7 separate regions of the Homo sapiens genome follow, and regions 1, 2, 3, 4, 5 and 7 are each linked to region 6. Evidence: promoter capture Hi-C in 16 types of primary human blood cells and fetal thymus (Javierre and others, 2016). All regions are on one chromosome and are shown on one strand. The core of a region is centred on a gene start or on the middle of the fragment in contact, and the rest is flanking DNA. Distances in the headings are between cores, read along the strand shown.

What was found. Contacts are between HindIII fragments. The CHiCAGO score rates a contact against its expected background, and 5 or more counts as called.
Region 1: a contact is called between a fragment that was not itself captured here and the fragment with the promoter of RYR3 in region 6, in 6 of 17 cell types (megakaryocytes, erythroblasts, endothelial precursors and 3 more). The highest score is 18.2, in megakaryocytes.
Region 2: a contact is called between a fragment that was not itself captured here and the fragment with the promoter of RYR3 in region 6, in 8 of 17 cell types (megakaryocytes, erythroblasts, M2 macrophages and 5 more). The highest score is 40.1, in megakaryocytes.
Region 3: a contact is called between a fragment that was not itself captured here and the fragment with the promoter of RYR3 in region 6, in 4 of 17 cell types (megakaryocytes, endothelial precursors, erythroblasts and 1 more). The highest score is 6.7, in megakaryocytes.
Region 4: a fragment that was not itself captured here is called in contact with the fragment with the promoter of RYR3 in region 6 in 3 of 17 cell types (megakaryocytes, endothelial precursors and erythroblasts); the score reaches 10.7 in megakaryocytes.
Region 5: a fragment that was not itself captured here is called in contact with the fragment with the promoter of RYR3 in region 6 in 6 of 17 cell types (megakaryocytes, erythroblasts, M1 macrophages and 3 more); the score reaches 24.0 in megakaryocytes.
Region 7: a fragment that was not itself captured here is called in contact with the fragment with the promoter of RYR3 in region 6 in 4 of 17 cell types (megakaryocytes, erythroblasts, M1 macrophages and 1 more); the score reaches 15.4 in megakaryocytes.

What each region holds. Positions count from the first base shown.
Region 1 is chr15:33,653,758-33,656,618 of GRCh38, forward strand. All of the region lies in intron 32 of RYR3 (ryanodine receptor 3), which reads left to right. Among named protein-coding and RNA genes, the nearest start is that of CHRM5, 310 kb to the right of the region's middle. The HindIII fragment of the contact is 5,067 bases long and covers 1-2,861 here.
Region 2 is chr15:33,690,743-33,693,442 of GRCh38, forward strand. All of the region lies in intron 38 of RYR3 (ryanodine receptor 3), which reads left to right. It also overlaps the pseudogene C1QBPP3. Among named protein-coding and RNA genes, the nearest start is that of CHRM5, 280 kb to the right of the region's middle. The HindIII fragment of the contact is 2,693 bases long and covers 34-2,700 here.
Region 3 is chr15:33,769,474-33,772,321 of GRCh38, forward strand. RYR3 (ryanodine receptor 3) reads left to right here. Exons shown (of 104, transcript NM_001036.6): 63 at 2,447-2,685. Among named protein-coding and RNA genes, the nearest start is that of CHRM5, 200 kb to the right of the region's middle. The HindIII fragment of the contact is 216 bases long and covers 1,467-1,682 here.
Region 4 is chr15:33,745,417-33,748,238 of GRCh38, forward strand. RYR3 (ryanodine receptor 3) reads left to right here. Exons shown (of 104, transcript NM_001036.6): 53 at 652-741; 54 at 2,698-2,822. Among named protein-coding and RNA genes, the nearest start is that of CHRM5, 220 kb to the right of the region's middle. The HindIII fragment of the contact is 981 bases long and covers 878-1,858 here.
Region 5 is chr15:33,714,810-33,717,509 of GRCh38, forward strand. The region is part of intron 43 of RYR3 (ryanodine receptor 3); the gene reads left to right. Among named protein-coding and RNA genes, the nearest start is that of CHRM5, 250 kb to the right of the region's middle. The HindIII fragment of the contact is 3,302 bases long and covers 1-2,700 here.
Region 6 is chr15:33,309,695-33,312,394 of GRCh38, forward strand. RYR3 (ryanodine receptor 3) reads left to right here and starts at 1,273. Exons shown (of 104, transcript NM_001036.6): 1 at 1,273-1,402. The coding sequence starts at 1,352. RYR3-DT (RYR3 divergent transcript) reads right to left here and starts at 965. Exons shown (of 3, transcript NR_120327.1): 1 at 884-965. RefSeq lists enhancers at 1,494-2,005, 2,006-2,515. The HindIII fragment of the contact is 6,631 bases long and covers 1-2,700 here.
Region 7 is chr15:33,629,755-33,632,454 of GRCh38, forward strand. It overlaps RYR3 (ryanodine receptor 3), which reads left to right. Exons shown (of 104, transcript NM_001036.6): 22 at 186-289; 23 at 1,456-1,539. Among named protein-coding and RNA genes, the nearest start is that of RYR3, 320 kb to the left of the region's middle. RefSeq lists a silencer at 2,143-2,362. The HindIII fragment of the contact is 3,990 bases long and covers 1-2,700 here.

The DNA.
Region 1 (2,861 bases), core at 133-2,632, 340 kb after region 6:
TGTTATACACATGTAGGTTTACCTGTCATTAACCACAAGCAGCCTGATCTCTTCATCCTTGATGGCCAGGTAAGGTTGGGAAACTGCCACATATCACATCCACCTCTTGAAGTTTTATAATGAAGGTTATTAGCACACTGAAATATTTGAGAAATACTTCAGAAAGAAACCTATGTAACCAAGCAGTTCTCAAATTATTTGACAAAGAAAAGCACTTTTTTTAATTTTAAGAATCAATAATGTTCTATGAACCTAGAGTTCCACAGAGCAAACTATGGGAGATGGGAGGTTAATGTCTACGTTAAACATTCTCGACTCTCCAAGGTAGAATGGAGAGTCACAAGTATTTGTAGACAGAGAACGCTGTACGAGTTCAAAAAAGGAAGAGCTCACTCCATCACAAGCAGTCAGGAGAATGTTCATTAAGGAGAAATCTTGATTTATTTATTTTTTTAAGGAAAAAGCGTTTTTACGGGCCAGGCATGGAGGCTCACACCTGTAGTTCCAGTATCTTGGGGAGGCCGAGGCAGACAGATCATTTGAGCTCAGGAGTTCGAGACCAGCCTGGGCAACATGGTGGACCCTCAGCTTTACAAAAAATAGAAAAATTAGCTGGGTGTGGTGGCATACACTTGTGGTCCCAGCTGCTCAGGAGGCTAAGAGACTCACTTGAGTCCGGGGAGGTCAAGGCTGCAGTGAGCCATGATTGTTCCACTGTACCCTACTCTGAGTGACTGAGTAAGACCCTGTCTTAAAAAAAAAAAAAGAATGAATTTTCATGGGTAGAAGGAGAAGAGTGTTGAATACATAGCTCAAGAAGTATCATGGAGATAGGGAAGCAGAAAGTGTGTTTGGGGATCTGTGGACAACATCGCATAGGGCTCTTATGGTTATTGGTAAGAAATTTGTTTGGAAAGCTAGGGAGATATAGATAGGAAATGGGGAGCCATTGAAGGTTTCTGAGCAGGAGAGTGGCATGCCGTACTTAGGGCATCCAACAGTTTTTCAGGGTCACCAGTTTACCTAACTATAGCAAATTAAAAACATCCTGCTATGATGTACATGGATAAAACCCCTGATTCTTAAATCAGCCTCAGGTTACAGCCTTCAGGCTGAAAAGCCTCTTGGCAGCCAGTTCTCTGGCCTGTGGTTGGAGAGAGGGGGTAAGGTAGACAGCAGACAGAGTAGCCACCTCCCATCTGAAATGTTCATTGACTAAGAACAGATGGACCAAACCCTTCCTGGGGGCGGGGAGCAGCCTGTTGGCACAGAGGCCGCCACCTTGTCTCTCCAGCACCTCCTGCAGTGCATGACCCTCTCTGCACCTCCTCCTCTTCCTGGGAGAAAGTGGAATCATCACCACTTGGCACGCTTGCTTCAGCAGCTGGGGCCCAACCAGCTATTTCCAGAAAGATGCACTCACAAAGCCAGGCTTTGAGGCAGAAAGTAAAGTATTATTCTTCTAGTACTTTTTCATGATTCTATCTCCTCCACCCCCAAATCCCCTGAGAAATGTTTTATATACATTACTGCTGTCCTTCAAAATCCATTAGCTTTTTCCCATTAACTTTAGAAATGAGTTTAACTGAAGGGTCCTCCCTGAGCTGCAGAGGACGCTAAAGCATCTCATAACTTTTAAGACTAGCTGATCTTTGGAAGTTCAAAAAAAATAATTAATTTTTTAAAATGGCATTTGCAGCAGCAGTGACTTGCCTGCTTCAGGAAAGAACCTGTGATGTTGAAGAGGAGGACACTGTGACAGCTTTAGCCCACCTTTCACCATCCTTCTGGGTGACATAGGCTGGTCAGTTGTCTTCTTTTGGCTGGGTGCTGGTACCCTACCTCCTGGAGAGCCTTCCTCCACCCTGTGCATAGAAATCCTGATGACCCTGCTCAGCGATCCCAGTCCTGACTCTTGCCCTTAAGAATGCTGCCGCAAAGGAGACAGTATCAGGACTCTGTCCAGAAACCTGAGAGGTTCACACCCAGCCAGCCCCCTTCTCATTCCAGGCGAGACAGTAACGTGTCCTGCCATGCATTTGGTCCCTGACAGTGGGATCGTTGTTATTCCACAGCTGTAGCCATTTTCATTTTTCAATTATGTCAAGAAGAACAGTCCAGCAATATTTATACACTGGCTTTCAGATTCAGAAAGGACTAGAAACCAAAATAATGAGAGAAGGAGTCTCTCAAACAATGTTTCTAGACCTCCCCATTAAATAGTGATAAACAATTTGAACACATTTTTCTGTCCACTTAATATAATCAGTGGCGAATTTGAGAAATAAAATCTACATTCAAGAGATACTCCTCAGTGATTGCCACTCCAGGCACACCAGTCTGAGACACAGGCAGCTATGAGGTTTGGATTTACAAGAGGGGTTAGCTTTCAATTCAGGCCCATTCCTGTGCCATGACCTTCACACATGATTAGAAAAAGAATGTCCATTATTGCAAGGACAAAACAGATCAGCCAGTGATGAAAGGTGCCTCAAATACAAAAGGGAAACTGTCAGTGGCATACCACGGCAGTGCTAAATCTGGGCTGGTTGCGCAATCCATGGGCATGTAAGTTCCTCATTTAGAAGGTAAGCTCCTTGAGGGCAGAGGCCCTCTCCTGTGCTCACTGCCGCCTCCCCATGCATGAAACAGTACCTGGCATCTAGTGAATGCTCACCGAGTATGTGTTGCCAGACTGACCCACGGCTGGGAAATCCCCTTGTAGGCATTTTTTTTTTATTGTTGCCTGACAAGTTACCACAAAATTTAGCAGCTTAAAACAACACACATTATTTCAGAGTTCCGCAGGCTTGACTGGGTACTCAGATTCTCACAAGGCCAAACACAAAGTGTGCCCTGGG
Region 2 (2,700 bases), core at 130-2,629, 380 kb after region 6:
TTTACACTATTGAAAATTACTGAGAACCCCAAAAGCTTTAGTTTATGTGGATTATATCTATCAGTGTTTACCAAATTTAAAATTAAAATTGACAAATATTTAAATATTTATTAATTTAAAAATAAAAACCTTATTACATGTTACATAAAGATACTTTTATGAAAACTAAATTTTTCAAAACAAAGTGATATTTCTTTGCATGATTATAAATCTCTTTAATGTCTGACTTAATTGAAGGCAGCTGGATTCTTATATCTGGTTAAAGAATAGGAAGAAAAATGGCCTTAAATACATAATTGGAAGGGTAGTAGTATTTTTCATAGCCTTTTCCAATAATTATGGATATTCTTCTGTAAAACTATATCTGAACAAGTAGTAGTTTCTGAAAAGTTAGTTGGCATGTGGAATCTGAAACCATATTAACTAGATGTCTGTACTTTGTTATGTAACAATTCATTGGTCTATCTTGCACATTGAATGGATCTTTTACCTAAGAATGTTTTTGTAATGTCATTCATTGATCATTGAGAGATTATTGGTTCGTTGAGTTAATAAGAACTTCAAAATCTTGACACATTTCATTATAAAATAGTTTAAAAATCACATTTGTTAGTATAGACAGGTTAATCAGAAAAGTCTTTAAGTACTGGGAAGCTGTCGAGCTCCCAGTGGCAGCTAAACATTTTTCAAAATTCTGATTTTCACTTGAAAGGTCAAATTTCATTATTGGCAACAAATACTATCACTTGAAGTGAAAGGCTTACTTTTTTCATTTTTTTCATTTCATTTTTTTCATTTGTTCAAGTTAACCATAGTTTCTTATTCTTTAATTAAAAATGGCATTCATGAAATAAGCAGCTAGTTCAGCTCACAACTCCATCACACAAGTACTTTTCCTCCAGAAAAAAACACTGAACTTTAATACATAGCAGAAGTGCTTTACTTCTTTTCTTTCTCTGTACCATTCTATCACAGAGGATATTTTAAAGATGTAAACTCGAGAGTTTATGATTAATAAAATTAATAATTTTTACTGCTTTATTCAGGACATCCTTCTGTGAAACGCATTTATCTGGAAGTGTGGCAATAAAAAATATAGTTGGGTGCTGCTAACTCGATTCAAGCTAAGGCACAAGCAGTTTTACTCAGCATTGCTTTTGCACCATCAGTGCAATTATCAACACGATGAAAAAGGCCAACAATATCTTAGAATTTTTATGAAAACACATTTGGACTTAAAGGGTATCTAAAGGGTCTTGGGCCCCCAGGGCTCTGCAGATCACATTTTTATGACTCTTGGTAGAGATGTCAGTAATAGTTCACCTTTATTAAACCTGCAGTATGTGCCATCCATGGTTATATGCATTAATTACTTTAATCATCAGATATACAGGTATATGGAGAGCCTAACACAATCTAGAAAATGTATTCTTTTTAACTTCTGGACTCTGGTATGTTTTGGCTGCTCTGCTGCTGATGCACGGGAGCTAATTAAAATCTGAAGAATTTTTAGTAGCATTGCTTGCTAGGGGTATAAAGCTCCATTTTCTCCATCCCAAAAGTGTTTAGACCTTGAGAAGTTCATTGGTTGTGCCTGGGTTTGCTTGGTGGGTCCTGGGTCTCTAGTATATGTCAGATGACAAAATATGTTGTGCTTTTCATGGCTCCTGAAAATGTCCCCTTCTGCCCCTCTCCCCCTGAATTTTATTTCTTTTCATAGTTATTGTTTCTCTCACTTACTGCACCTTGGTCTCACAATTTGAAACATTTTCCAGTACATATGGCTTTAAATGTCAGGCCTTCCATGGAATTACATCTGCCTGTCAGCAACACAGCGGTAAGTCTTGCCTCCTTTTCTGGCAGGACCTGGGGACTACTTTTTTTTTTTTTTTTTAACTGTACTTCAGCTTGGTCACACATAAATATTTATCCCGTTCTCTGACACTTACTTTGAAGGCTTGCCTGGACAAAGAATGGAGTGGCAGGTGTTTGCTGCTTCATGCTTTGAGGCTAAAAGGGTGTTTTCTTTCCCATTTTGCCCTCTAGTGAGGTGTTTTGCTTTACATGCTCTCTAGGCCATAAATATTTGTTTGGATTTTTGAGTCAGTGTGAGGCTAAGAGCTTACCCAAATCCTGAATTAATCTGAAAGCCAGGTTAAAGGAAACTCATATGTACTTGGTTTTATTATGATTCTGTAAAATTCTCTGTTGAAGAGAAGATGGTCCTTGAGCAGGTTAGCAATTCCACCAGATCTGATTATTGCTTTTCCAGTGTGGCAGGGACTGGGATAGCATGTATTATATCTGCAGAGAATTGTTTTGTTAGTCGTGAGAACTATAATTCTTTCAAGCCAAGGTATAGGTTTTAGAGGAAATTGTACTGACGGGACTAGAAAAACTTAAATTGGGTCCAAGAGTCTTTGTTTTTGTCTTGCTTTCCTTCTTACTACGTAAGTAATAACTAGGAGTGCATCCATACGTATTGGTGGTCGCCTCTGTGATGCTGCATGCCTGGTGCCCCGGGCTCTGCAGTTGCTGCCCTCCATGCTACCATGCCTGCGCCACCACTCCAGCAGCGCCCAGGTCCTGTGCCCGGCCCTTTGCGCTGCTCAGTGTGCATGTGTATGGGGTCTGCATGGCAGCCTGGCCTCCTGGGGCCTCCTAGGCCCTCCTACGCCCTGTGCCTGGGGCTACAGCGGC
Region 3 (2,848 bases), core at 325-2,824, 460 kb after region 6:
ACAAATGTTATGGGAAAGATGAACCACAGCGCTCTGAATTCAAAATGGCCAAGGAAGGAAATGCACAGAGATCTGGCTTCAAAAGAATCAGAGACAAAGACGTTGATGCCATGGCCTAGGGATTTGGGAAGAAGTCTTAAAAAATAATACATAAGTTCTGGTAATAACACAAATGATGAGACTGAAAAGAGAGACGCAGGCCAGGCGCGGTGGCTCATGCCTATAATCCCAGCACTTTGGGAGGCCGAGGCAGGCAGATCGCTTGAGCTCAACAGTTCAAGACCAGCCTGGGCAACATGGTGAAACATCTACAGAAAATACAAAAACTAGCCAGGCATGGTGGTGCATGCCTGTAGTCCCAACTACTCGGGTGGCTGAGGTGGGAGGATGGCTTGAGCCCAGGAGGTGGAGGTTGCAGTGAGCTGAGATCACGCCACTACACTCCAGCCTGGATGACAGAGCCAGACCCTGTCTTAAAAAATATATATAAATAAGAGAGAAGCAGTGGAAAGAACTGACAGGGACCTTTCTTTAACATGCCCATTAAGAAGGGTCCTTGTCAGAGCCGGGCACCATGATTTCTGCCTATAGTCGAAGCTACTCAGGAGTTCAAGACCAGCCTGAATAATGTAGAGAGACCTCATCTTTAAAAAAAAAAAAAGAAAGAAACGTCTTTATCAAAATTGGGAGGAGGACACACCTCCTAAGACCCAATGCAAAAGAGGTTACCAACCTAAAAGAGTGGGACACTAAAAGAGCGTCCCAAAGATGAAAATCCACAATGAACTGAGAATGGCTATAAAAAAGGAGGAGAATAAGGACTATTAAAGGGATGAGAAATCTTTACTCCAAGAAACTTGGGAAAAGTCTTGAGAGAGTCCAGTTTTTTGTTTGTTTGTTTTATTTTGTTTTGTTTTGTTTTAAATGAAGGTCAGTTGCAGGTTGGTGTGTTTAGTAATTATTCCTGACAAAACCTGGGACTAGAAAGTTAGGAAGGGCCAGATGCAGTGGCTCACGCCTGTAATCCCAGCACTTTGGGAGGCAGAGGTGGGTGGATTGCTTGAGGCCAGGAGTTCAAGACCAGTCTGGGCAACATAGACCCCCATCTCTACAAAAAATTTTAAAAATTATCCAGACATGATGGCACATGCCTGTGATCCCAGCTACTCGGGAGGCTGAGGTGAGAGGATTGCTGAGCATGGGAGGCTCTCATGAGAGGTCACTGCACTCCAGCCTATGCAACGGAGTGAGACCCCATCTCAAAAAAAAAAAGTTAGAAAGATAGCCCATGAATACTTATAGGATAAGAACAAGCCTAACTGACTTTATTTCTTTGTTTGTATTGTCTTGATGAGTTGAATGATTATCAGGAAAATGATGTAGATAAAAAGCATCTGTCCTTGAACCAAGTCTTTCATAATCTTCTGAATAAGATATAGAAATACAAAACTTATAGATGACTTGTAAGCTTTGTTCCAATTCTAAGTTTTATGAAATACTGTAGTTTTGAGGGAAGGCTTCAAATCTCCATAGCTGATCTTCATCCCTGTAGATCACATTTCAATGTTTTGTTTTGTGTTTTCCAGAGGTCTGATTAAGCTGTCTACTTTAAAACGGCTAGTTGTCTCTTTTCTCTTTCCTCATCCAACCTAGGACGTTTCCCGCAAACTAACAGAAATCTAAGCTTCTGTTGACTTATTTCCTTGCTCTTTTCCTCTAAGAGGTCTTACATCGGAAGAGTTTATGTTTCTAGCTAACCTTTATAAAAGTTGTTTATCTAGGCTGAGCACGGTGGCTCACGCCTGTAATCCCAGCACTTTGGGAGGCCAAGGCGGGCGGATCACCAGGTCAAGAATTGGAGACCATCCTGGCCAACATGGTGAAACCCCGTCTCTACTAAAAATACAAAAATTAGCTGGGCGTGGTGGCGGGTGCCTGTAATCCCAGCTACTCGGGAGGCTGAGGCAGGAGAATTGCTGTAACCTGGGAGGCAGAGGTTGCAGTGAGCCGAGATCACACCATTGCAGTCCAGCCTGGTGACAGGGTGAGACGCTGTCTCAAAAAAAAAAAAGTTGTTTATCCCACAACTTTTCTTAAAGCTCATTTCCCTGTTCTTTTAACTAGATCTTTACAGAAGACTTTAGCCAGTTGCAACTTACTGTAGATAATAGTGGGTGACCAATATTGGCTTCATTCTAAATTGTTCTCTGCATTTCCTGAAGAGGTGAGCAATGTTTTCCTCAGACTGTCCAGTGGCTAGCCCCTCTGGGATTGTGTGATTCAGGTTTCTTCCTGGATGTTAACTGCTCTCTCCCTTTCTCCTGACACAGTGTCATTGAGTGACAGGAGTGGCAAATGTCTGCCCAGATGACACTGCCAGTTTCAAGAAGGGGATTGGCCAAAAGTTCAGATTATGCTTCTAGATTTGAACATTGTTTGCTTGCAGGACTGTCATGAAGTCAGGCTCAGAGCTGGTGAAGGCTGGGTTACGAGCATTCTTTGAAAATGCTGCAGAAGATTTGGAGAAGACTTCAGAAAACCTGAAACTTGGGAAGTTCACCCATTCCCGAACGCAGATTAAAGGCGTTTCTCAGAATATTAACTACACTACAGTGGCTCTGCTCCCCATCCTGACGTCCATCTTTGAGCACGTCACTCAGCATCAGTTTGGAATGGATCTACTCTGTGAGTTCTACTGGTATTTGTCGTGGATGTATGTGCACATGGCCCCAGATAGGAGGTGCAGGGCCCATTCACTTACATTGACCTTGAGGGCAGAGCAGAGAGAGAATTATTCCATGCCTTTTCTTTCTTAGATTAAAAAAGAAGAAGAAGAAGAAGAAGAAGT
Region 4 (2,822 bases), core at 118-2,617, 440 kb after region 6:
ATATACACATTTAACAAATGGACAGGAGCAGAGATTGAGAAAGAGCAGCCAGGAGTCTTGGGGATGTGAAGTTACAGAAATCAGGGGCTCTTACTTATCTCTGTATCCACTGTGCCTCGGACAGAGTCTGGTGTGTACCATAGAAGACATTCACCCAATATTTGTTGAATAACCCTAAAAGTTCTTAAACTTCTGTGACTCTAGGAAGCACACATCACTACACTTTTGCTCTGGCACTGGCAGGCAAGGGTTGCAAGGCAAATGGCCCCTCTAGGCAGTGGCAATAGGTCCAGTCTTCCCAGGCCTTCCAGTCCTAGCCTCTGTTCTTCCTGCGAGGGGAGTACTCTAACCTGAGAAGCACCATTCCCAGGGCCTTTTGAAACATGCTGTTTTAAGAGGGCCTGAAATACAAGTGAGAAAGTGGAGAGGACAGCAACTGAAACAAGAAGGAATAAAAGAGCAGAGTTCAAGATTCAGGAGGCGGAGAGCCTGATGGCCTGAAAAGATCAATTAGGCATTTTTGAGGAGAATTTCTAAGCCCTGTCACTATCCATTACTCCACTTGCTCCATGAAAATAGAAGCAGGGATTTGGGTCACATAGCGGGGTTCTTTGCGTGCCAAGGATATTTGAACTGAGAACATTTCTACAGAGTCAGAGTGGATGGAAATATGGGATTTCCCTGGATGAAAATGTGAAGACCCACCCACTGATAAGGCCTTTCAAGACATTAACGGAGAAGGTAAGAAGCAGGCCTCTGGTAACACTGTGTGACCATGCTGTTTCCTTCCTTGAGTGATTTTATCAGAGGAGTTCAGAGCACATTCACTCTCACGTCCCTACAACATCATCATCTAGGACTCAGTAAACTGTTCACAAGCTTGCCAGTGGGCAAGTGCCTCAGGACCAGTTTCCGAGAGCCCAGCCTCACTTTCTGTTCTTTGGCTTTGAGAGGCCATTGGTGAAAGAAGCATTGTTCAGCACTTTGAGGCTGGGCCAAAATGCATTTGTAGTTCTGCAACTGAACTGAACCAGGAAGGGGTTTGGTTAGGGCGGGGCAGGGAGAAGGCACGGTGAAATTGCTGGAGAAAATTCAGACAAGGCCGGGTGTGGTGGCTCATGCCTGTAATCCTAGCACTTTGGGAGACCAAGGTGGGAGGATTGCTTGAGGTCAGGGCTTCAAGACCAGCCTGGCCAACATGGTGAAACCCCATCTCTACTGAAAATACAAAGATTAGCCAGGCAGGAGAATTGCTTGAAACCGGGAGGCAGAGGTTGCAGTGAGCCAAGATCACGCCACTGCACTCCAGCCTGGTGACAGAGCGAGACTCCATCTCAAAGAAAAGAAAAAGAAAAAATTCAGACAAAAATAATTTCTTTCTTTCTTCTTTTTTTTTTTTTTTTCTCTTTTGAGGCAGGGTCTCGTTCTGTCACTCAGTCTAGAGTGTAGTGGTGTGATCTCGGCTCACTGCAACCTCCACCTTCCGGGCTCAAGTGATCCTCCCACCTCAGCCTCCCAAGTAGCTGGAACTATAGGCATGCACCACCATGCCCAGCTAATGTTTGTAATTTTTTAGCAGAGACGGGGTTTCGCCATGTTGGCCAGGCTGGTCTTGAACCCCTGACCTCAAGCAATCCTCCCACCTCGGCCTCCCAAAGCACTGGAATTACAGGTGTGAACTACCATGCCCAGCCAAAAATGATTTCTAATACATGGAAGATACAGGTAATAGAGAAGAGAATCCTCAAGAAAATATGGTTAAGAGAATGCATCTCTTGCTTAAAAAAATTAATTAATTAACGTATTTGGTTTAACTCAACTCTGAATTCTTATCTTGCAATCTGTAAGATTCTTAGTAAGCTTTAGGCCTAGGCCTAGTGTCACATGTAAAGGCTGGTGTATGTATCTTTGCATTCATGTTGACTACCTATTAAATTGTACATAGACCAAAAGAGAAATCTTTTTTTTTTTTTTTTTGAGACGGAGTTTCACTGTTGTCACCCTTTTTTTTTTTTTTTTTTTTTTGAGACAGAGTTTCACTGTTGTCACCCAGGCTAGAGTGCTGTGGTGCAATCTTGGCTCAGTGCAAGCTTCATCTCCTGGCTTCAAGCAATTCTTTTGCCTTAGCCTCCCGAGTAGCTGGGACTACAGGCATGCACCACTACGCACAGCTAATTTTTGAGTTTTTAGTGGAGATGGGGTTTCACCATGTTGTCCAGCCTGGTGTCGAATTTCTGACCTCAGGTGATCCACCCGCCTCGGCCTCCCAAAGTGCTGGGATTACAGGCATGAGCCACCGTGCCCAGCCCACAAGAATTCTAAATCTAAGAAATTATCTTTCCCAAACTCACAGGAGAGCTTTATGCAGATGCATTTTGACAATCTTCAACAACTACTAGAACATGAGGAGCCACTCTCCCATTCCTGTTCTTCGTCTACAGAATGTAGATAATGTCATTAATAATGTCTGGCACATTTCCTCCCAGGGCAGGAAAGACCGTAGGGTCTTATATCTAAAAACACCAGAAAGACTGTGTTTCGGGTAAGATGCCACAAAGGATGTTTTGACCTTGTGAGAGAAGGCTGGTGCTAACTAGCACCCCCACCCACAGTGGGATGCACCTTCCATGCGGAGATGGGCCAGGGAGAATGCTGGGGTGTGTTCTGCAAAGTGCTTCTGCTCAAATTCTCTTCTAGGAGAAGGAAATTTATCGCTGGCCTGCGCGAGAGTCCCTGAAAACCATGCTGGCTGTGGGCTGGACTGTGGAGAGGACCAAAGAGGGAGAAGCTTTGGTTCAACAGCGGGAAAATGAGAAGCTTCG
Region 5 (2,700 bases), core at 74-2,573, 410 kb after region 6:
CGTGATGCTCTAGAAGTCCTGCCCAGAAGTCACTTCCTACAACTCAAAGCAGGAAACAGAGAAAACCCAAGTAGAGTGATCAGAAACATGTATGGAATAATTACTAAAAACTTTGTAATCAACCACACCTACCTACATAGTGACACATGAGACATTGGCATGCCAAAATGATGGTGTTTATTGGAATCTGGTAGAATTAGTCAAGGGATGCATGAGGAAGAAGGCAAGTGTTGAATAACATCTTGAAATAAATGGATATAGTTTAACAAAGTCCTAAAGGGAGAGCATATGGATAGACTGTTGTGCTGGGAGACATACATCTTTTAGGGTTGAGAGTACAAAGTGTCATCTTAGCTTTGAAGGGCATACAAGGTGTAGACACTTAAGAATCATCTGGTTTATTTCTGCCCTTGTATTCATGTTTTTAGAGTCAGAAAGGGCATGTTAACCATTCTTCAGTGTGATTGGTACTAGACTAGGCATGGTTAGGACTAAATGTGTGACACATAGTTTTGTTCTCAAATTTATAAAACAGTTGAAAAGATTCAGCAAGCTCTTGAAAAATTAACCAATGGCAAAAGATTTAAATAACAGTTTAAGACAAATAGGAACAACATCGCAATGTTGTACTCAGGAGATACAATCATGCTAGAGTGATAAGAAGGTAGAATATAAGGTACATTTGAGATATGGCTAGTTGCAGCTGGATTCTTAACATCTATGTTACACCTTTGTACTAACTGTAAGGTATCTTAGTCCATTTATACTGCAGCAACAAAATACCTGAGACTGGATAATTTATAAAGACAGAAATTTATTTCTCACAGCTCTGAAGACTGGGAAGTTCAAGAACAAGGCACCAGTAAGATTGATGTCTGGGAGGGCTGCTGTCTGCTTCCAAGATAGTACCATGTTGCTGCATCCTCTGGAGAGGAGGAACACTGTGTCCTCACATGGCAGAATCAATTGAAGGGCAAGAGACCATCCCTTCAATTTTAAACCCTTTTATAAGGGTACTAATCCCACTCATGTGGGCAGAGATCCTTATAACTTAATCACCTCCCAAAGGCCACACTTCCTAATACTGTTTAATATGGTTTGGATGTTGTCTTCTCTGAATCTTATGTTGAATTCTCATCCCGAATGTTGGAGGTGGAGCCTGGTGGGACGTGTTTGGATCATGGGGGCAGATGCCTCTTGGCTTGGTGCTGTCCTCACACTAGTGAGTTCTCATAAGCTCTGGTTGCTTAAGTGTGTGGTACCTTCCTCCCACTCTTTCTCTCGTTCTCTGAGACACCTGCTCCCCCTTCATCTTCTGCTATGAGTAAAAGTTTCCCAAGGCCTCACCAGAAACCAAGCAGTTGCTGGCACCGTTTCCTGTATAGCCTGCAGAACCAATGAGCCAATTAAACCTCTTTTCTTTATAAATTACTCAGCCTCAGGTATTTTTTTATGGCAATGCAAGAATGGCCTAACACACTGTTGCATTAGGGATTAAGTTTCAACATAAATTTCGGAGGAGGCACCATGATTCAAACCATAGTATAAAGCGTGTACAGTCTTGCATACCCTACCTTCTTCGTTCTCCCACTGGACTCCCTGGAATCTTTATACCTGAGAAAAGGAAAGGAAATCTATCAGACAGGTAAAGGGCTTCTAGTGACAGAGGCAAGGAAATGTGCCTCCATCTGTAAAAATTCAAAGTGAAACAGCATCAAAGTCCAGAAATAAGCAGACAGTCAAAACAGTACCAGTAATAGAAAACAAATTCCTCAAATAAAGAAGCCAATGGCAAACCTAGGCCCAGAGCACCAAAATGAGGAAAGCTGGCTGGGGTGAAAGGATATCAGCTACATTCTTTTCACCCTAAGTGAATTTCTCAGCAGCTTGCCTCCAAGGCCCCTGTGGGATTCCAACGATAGTGATAACTGAGTGTCTTGGCAGTGGACTCAAAAGTCCAGAACCTACTTAATATACGTATGTGGATTTCATCAACCATTTCATTGATAAGAGTAGTAAGTGAAGCCTGATACTTCAATAAAACTAGAATTAAGCTGAATGAAACAAAAAAAAAATCCACTTCATCAACATTATTCACACAAAATGGCAGTATTATGATCCTTGTGCCCATCAAAGGCTGATTTTCATCATCTTATTGAGAATGCCCATATTTTGTCAGAGCACACCTTCTGACTTCAGGTTTCTATGGCATTCAAGTTTTATTTGGCATATTTCATGAAAAAGCTACATAGACCCAAACTCTAGACACATGGGCAAAATCTTAGCACAATTCTGCGATTAAATACTGGCCTTCAAAATATCTGGGCTACTACTGCACCATCCACCCTGCATGGTTTCATGGCTTTGAATTCCACGTATACACTGATGATCCCCAGATGTACTTTGCCAGCTTTGTCCTCTTCCCTGAGCCCCAGACTTGTATATCTTGGTTATCTACCTGGTATTTCTACTTGAAGGTTTAATACGCATCTTAAATTTTGTACATCTTAAAGCTGAGTATGTAATTACCACCCAAAACCCGTTCTTCCCCGAGGATTCTCCATCTCCTTAACTAGCTCCACCAACTTTTCAGATACTCAGACTAAGTCTAGACAGCATCCTTGAATCAACTTTTTTCCTTATTCCCACATCCAGTCCATCACCAAGTTCTGTTGATTCAGCATCTAAAAGATATCTGAA
Region 6 (2,700 bases), core at 23-2,522:
GGGGTTTCCAGTGTCTTCCACCATCATCAGCCCAGAATTACCACCTTCCCAGTTGCACTTCCTCCTAAATCTACATCTCTGGTGCCTTTTGCCTTGAACAGTCTCTTGCCTTGGAGCTTCTCGGCCATCAAACAGAAGGGGGCACCCTGCACCGTCAGTCAAGGCAAGGACCAATCTGGCAATCCCCAACCATGGAAAAGGACCTAAGGCTGGGTGGGATGTAGGAGCCTTCCAGGACCTGGAAGGGAGCCTCCTGTAACTACTCTCTACTCCCTTTAGAGTCCACAGGGCTGGAACTCTAAATGCAGAATAAGGTTAGGGGTGGGCAGAGAGGAAGGGTTGTGATGCCACCTGACTTCCAAATTGAGGGTGGCACAGGATCCCCCAGAAGCTCCCTGGGGTACAGAAGTCACAGCAACCCTGGACAATCCAGGGGTTTGGTAAAGTGTACTTACCAATTTTGAAGAGGGGAAGGGGTTCTCTTAAGGTGTAGAAAGGACTATCCAGGGAGTTGCAAACTTTGTTGTAAGTGGACAATCACCCTCGCTCCTCACTGCACCGTCTTCTCCTTGCCCAACAATGCACGCGGGTCCTAGCAAGGTATTCGAGTCCAGATCTCTCTCTCTCTCTCTCTCTCTCTCTCTGTCTCTGTCTCTCTCTCTTTCCTCTCTCTGTCTCTCTGTCTCTGTCTCTCTCTTTCCTCTCTCTCTCTCTCTGTCTCTGTCTCTCTCTTTCCTCTCTCTCTCTCTCTATCTCTGTCACACACACACACACACACACACACACACACACACACACACAGGCAAAGTGGGCAAAGCGGGCAAAGCGAGCAAAGCGAGAGGGTTGGTACCCAGTCTGGGCGCGCTGGAGCTAAGCAACTGGCCTTTGTTTGTGAATTGGAGCAGTTTAGGGGACATCCTCCGGTCGCCGCGGGGCGCGCGCCTCCGCTGAGTGTGCGGTGCGGTACCCAGCGGTGCGGGGGAGGCTCCACCGCGCCAGCCCAGGGCCCCCGCACCGCCCCCGCCAGCTCGACGCGCCCAGCGTTGCGCTCTCCACGGAGCGGGCGGCCGCAGCGCACTTGGCTGGGGCGAGAGGCGAGAGGGGTGGGCGGACTGCTTGGTTGGCGTTGGCGCTCTGCAGTGCAGTGGAGTGTTAGCCCAGCTCCCTATATGGTCGGGGATTAGCTTGGCGCTGCTGAGGCTGAGGCTGAGCCAGGAGCTGGAGGAGGAGGTGGAGGACGAGGACGAAAAGGAGGAGGAGAAAGAGCGCAGCAGCAGTCAGCGCACGCCGAGCGGCTGCCGGGGGAAGCAGAGGCGCCGGAGGCTGGGGCACCGCCGACGCCTCGGGAGCCATGGCCGAAGGGGGAGAAGGAGGCGAGGACGAGATCCAGTTTCTGAGGACTGTGAGTCTCCGCGGCGGGGGCGAGGCCGTGGGCAGGTGGGGAGGAGCGCGGAGCGCGGCGAGGAGGGGCTGGCTGCGCTGCGCCGCGGTGCCGGGTGCCCGGTGCCGGGCGCTTTCTCCGCACCCGCGGGCTGCAGAGGCGGACCGGCCACCTACCCGCGGGGCCGCGAGGGGCTGCGTGGGAAGGGGCACCATCTCCTGCCTCTCCCTTGTTCCCCTACCGCCACCCCTGCCCCAGGCCCTCCACCTAGGACCGCTCGCTCTCCAGGCAACTTGCTACTTGGTCTGAAACCCTTGATGCCCAAACTTCAGCCGGGGTTTGTTCGCGGTTGTCCTGACCCATAAGATCGGCGTTGGAAGCCCTCGCCCCGGGGTCGGCCCTCTGACACCTCCATACTCCACCCCAGCCCCATTCCTCTTCCAGGGCGCCCCCACGCACAGGGGAACCTCCGGGAAGGAGCCAGCGGGGCAGGGGGGAGTGTGGGGAGCCGGGTCGGAGAAGCGGGCGCAGGCGCTTGGTCCTAGCCCTGGGATCGCTCGGAGGGGAATTCACCCAGCGCTGCCCCTCTCGTGTTAAGCCCCACGCCGGCAACTGCTGCTGGAGCCTGACTTGACTGACTGCCTGTCGTGTGTTCGAGAGCTGTGGCTTCTGCTCCTGGCTCCCGCGAGCCCCGCAGGACAGGGAAACCCCAGTCAGTGGCTCCGCGTCACTCAGGTCCCCTCCTTGACACCTGAGGGCGCTGCTCCGTCCCAGATTTGGGGGTGAGGGGGCGAAGTCTGTTGCAGCCACACCAGCCTTGCCCTGTAGGAGATAATACAAAGACTTTCAGGGTGGACGGCCACCCGGAGGGGTGGGGGCATTGGGGATGCATCCTAGCGCTGACTTCAGCCAAGTGACCTTGAGCAAGTCGCATAATCCGCCCTACTCAGCCTCAGTTTCCTCATGTGTAAAATAAAATGTAACCAGCGTTTCAGGGTGATAAGGATTAAACGTTATCGTGAATGTCATAATGTTTTGTAAACGGCAAATCGCTCTGTAAATCTTAGGTAATTTTATATGCGCTGCCTTGCTCTCAGGAATTAGAATGAAATTCTTTCTTTCCCTCTCTCACTTCCCTTTAAGGGTGCCCCCTTCTCCATGACCTGGTCTTCGAAGATCACAACTTACCTCTTGTCCATCTTTTGAACCACTCTCCTCCTGTTGAAGCGCTTCCTTCCAATTTACTTCAGTTTCTCTTCCAAACATGGTTCTTTTGTCAAAGCTGGGACTTGGGTCTTATTTGGGGGGGGTATGGAAGT
Region 7 (2,700 bases), core at 36-2,535, 320 kb after region 6:
AACTTGGAGACTGTGTGTCTCATTGACTAGAGAGATCATCTGTTTGCCGAATAGCAAGTTGCTGTCTTTCTCTTGCCTGATATGGATTGCCTGGGCCATGTTTCAAAGTATGTTCTGTTCTGTTTTCCCATGCAGTGCCAGCTGGTCAAAACTTAAATCACATTCTTTCTTATGTCACCACCTAGATACGAGATGACAATAAAAGACAACACCCTTGCCTTGTGGAGTTTTCAAAGCTCCCAGAAACTGAGAAGAACTATAACCTGCAAATGTCAACTGAAACCTTAAAGTGAGTATTTAATTGAGCTGAAGTTTTACAAACAATGAATAGATGATTTAATGCATTATAACTAAACTGCAAAGATATGTCTCTTGCCTGAAAACGTGGCACATTCTGATAAATTAGAGGAGATGATGATGAATCATGTCACAAGAGGATTTAGCATAACCATCCACCATTATTATTGACTATATTTCTTAAACCATTTGCTATTTGCTAGGGGCAGGGAAAAAGTAAGAGGCAGAAAAGAAACTTAGAATCAAAGGACCAAGTACCTCCTGCAGTTCACATTAAATAAAGGAAAAAAAATGAAGCATTTCTAAAACCCGTTGGGAAACCTGATCTGATACACTAAAATTCAATTTTAAAATAATTTTCGCTTCTCCGTGATGCTACCCATGGGCCTAATTTAGACTTTAACTTCTCTAGCCTAAATTGTTATCTCCCATTTTGAATTCTTTGGGGGCTTGTTACCTGTTCTCTTGTCTTTGTATTTCCCTGTTCTCTAGTTGTCACTGCAGAACATTTTAACTTTGTGGTTTTGTTGGCATAACGATGCTCCGTAAGGTCCCTTGTCCCACAGGCTTACATGGGATACCTTCAATTACACTGGCACCTCTTGAGGGTATGGCTTTGTACTTCATGGTTTTAAGCACAGCTCATGCCCTTACAGGCATCATGCAGTAAATATTTGCTGACCTGTGGGCTGGATATTAGAATTCTATCTGTTCCATGGAATTCGAAGAGGCATATAATTGTAATGCAAATTTATAAAATAGAAAAATGTCTCCAAGAGGGGCAATTAACAAATTTCTCTTCTGTAATCTTATGCTTGCTATCATCTAAATCGGGAGTTGACAAATTATGGCCCATGGGACAATCAGACCAGCTACCTATTTTTGTAAATAGATTGTTATTGTAACAGAGTCAAGCTCATTGGTTTTCATATTGCCTATGGCTGGCTTTGCTCTGTAATCACAGAGTTGTAGCTGTGACAGAGACATATGGCTCACAAAGCCTAAGGCATTTACTCTGTGGCCCCTTACAGAAAAAGTCTACTGACCCCTGGGCTAAATGAATGGCTCTTGTCTGTTTTCAACTCGGATGTGAATTAGGGTTCCTGCTGTTCCTAACACTGCAGTTAACCTTAGTCTTCTCCTTCTGTTGTGTCACAGAACCCTCTTGGCCCTGGGGTGCCACATTGCTCATGTTAACCCAGCTGCTGAGGAGGATCTCAAGAAGGTCAAACTGCCCAAAAAGTAGGTGATTTTTTTTTTAATGGTTCAAGACTTTAATGCTTCAGCCTGGATTTTTAATCCAGGAGGGTGGTACCAAGACAGACAACAGCCCACATAGTTGCTAGCACCAGCTCAGAAGGGCTCCCCTGTTTCCTAGATGACACTGAAGCCCTCAGATAGAAGCCTGGTGAAGAAGTATTTCAGGGTTTTCCCTCTCTTTGCCCCTTCCACCTGGACCTCACACTAATATTGTTAGTTTTGAGCCAGGAGGTCAGATGGATGCACTGTCTTTGATCTATAAGAATAGCATTCAGCACAAAAGCTGAAAAGTGGTTCCCAGCCATGACAGAGAGTCACTCCTCTGGCATTGGACCAGCCTTGTAAGTCCTTTGTGGAAGGGGTATCTCTGCCACCATTCGTTTGACCTCCTATATCTGCCTGTGTCCTGCTCTGCCTCTCTCCCACTACATTCAGACACAGTTGCACATTTCTTGTCCTTGCACATTCAAATGCTTGCTCAGCGGCACATCCACTGGCCCCCTTGCTTGTTTGCTCTCATGCATGCCAGCAGATATGCAGATGGATTCACACACAGGTGTCATCATTACTTAGGAGCCAAGCAGTGCCAGCTTTAATCAAACGTTTATCTTCCCCCTTCTTTCCTCTTAAACTTCCAAGATCCACTCTCACACACGCAACTCCTAGTACCAAGAAAAGCACATCTGACAGGCTGCAGTGGAGGAACAGGCTGCTGGCCAGAGCTGCTGAGGTCAGGACACAACAGTCAGTGCATCCTGACTCTGCCCAAGGGCAGCATCCTGAAAAGGTGGATGCAGAACTTTATCTTATACCTACCTACAATAGACCCTGCATCTCATGTTGCTCAGAGGTCCTGGATGGATTGAGCCCTGGTCTGTGGTTCATCACTGTTGGATTCTGGCCCTGGCCTAGGCAGTCAATGGCCCTAGGGCCATAGATACCTTTAAACTCATATTCCCACATGGCCATGACAATCTGCTTTCCTAAGGTTTCACTCCGCAGTGTGCCCTAGTCTTCTGCATTTACACGATGTGTCTACATAGAGCTCTTCCACTTCTTCCCATTATCAGTCAACTTACAGACATTTGAGGCTGTAACTCTTGGACTGGACAGCTAACTGCTAAGATCACTTTAAGTTCAAAA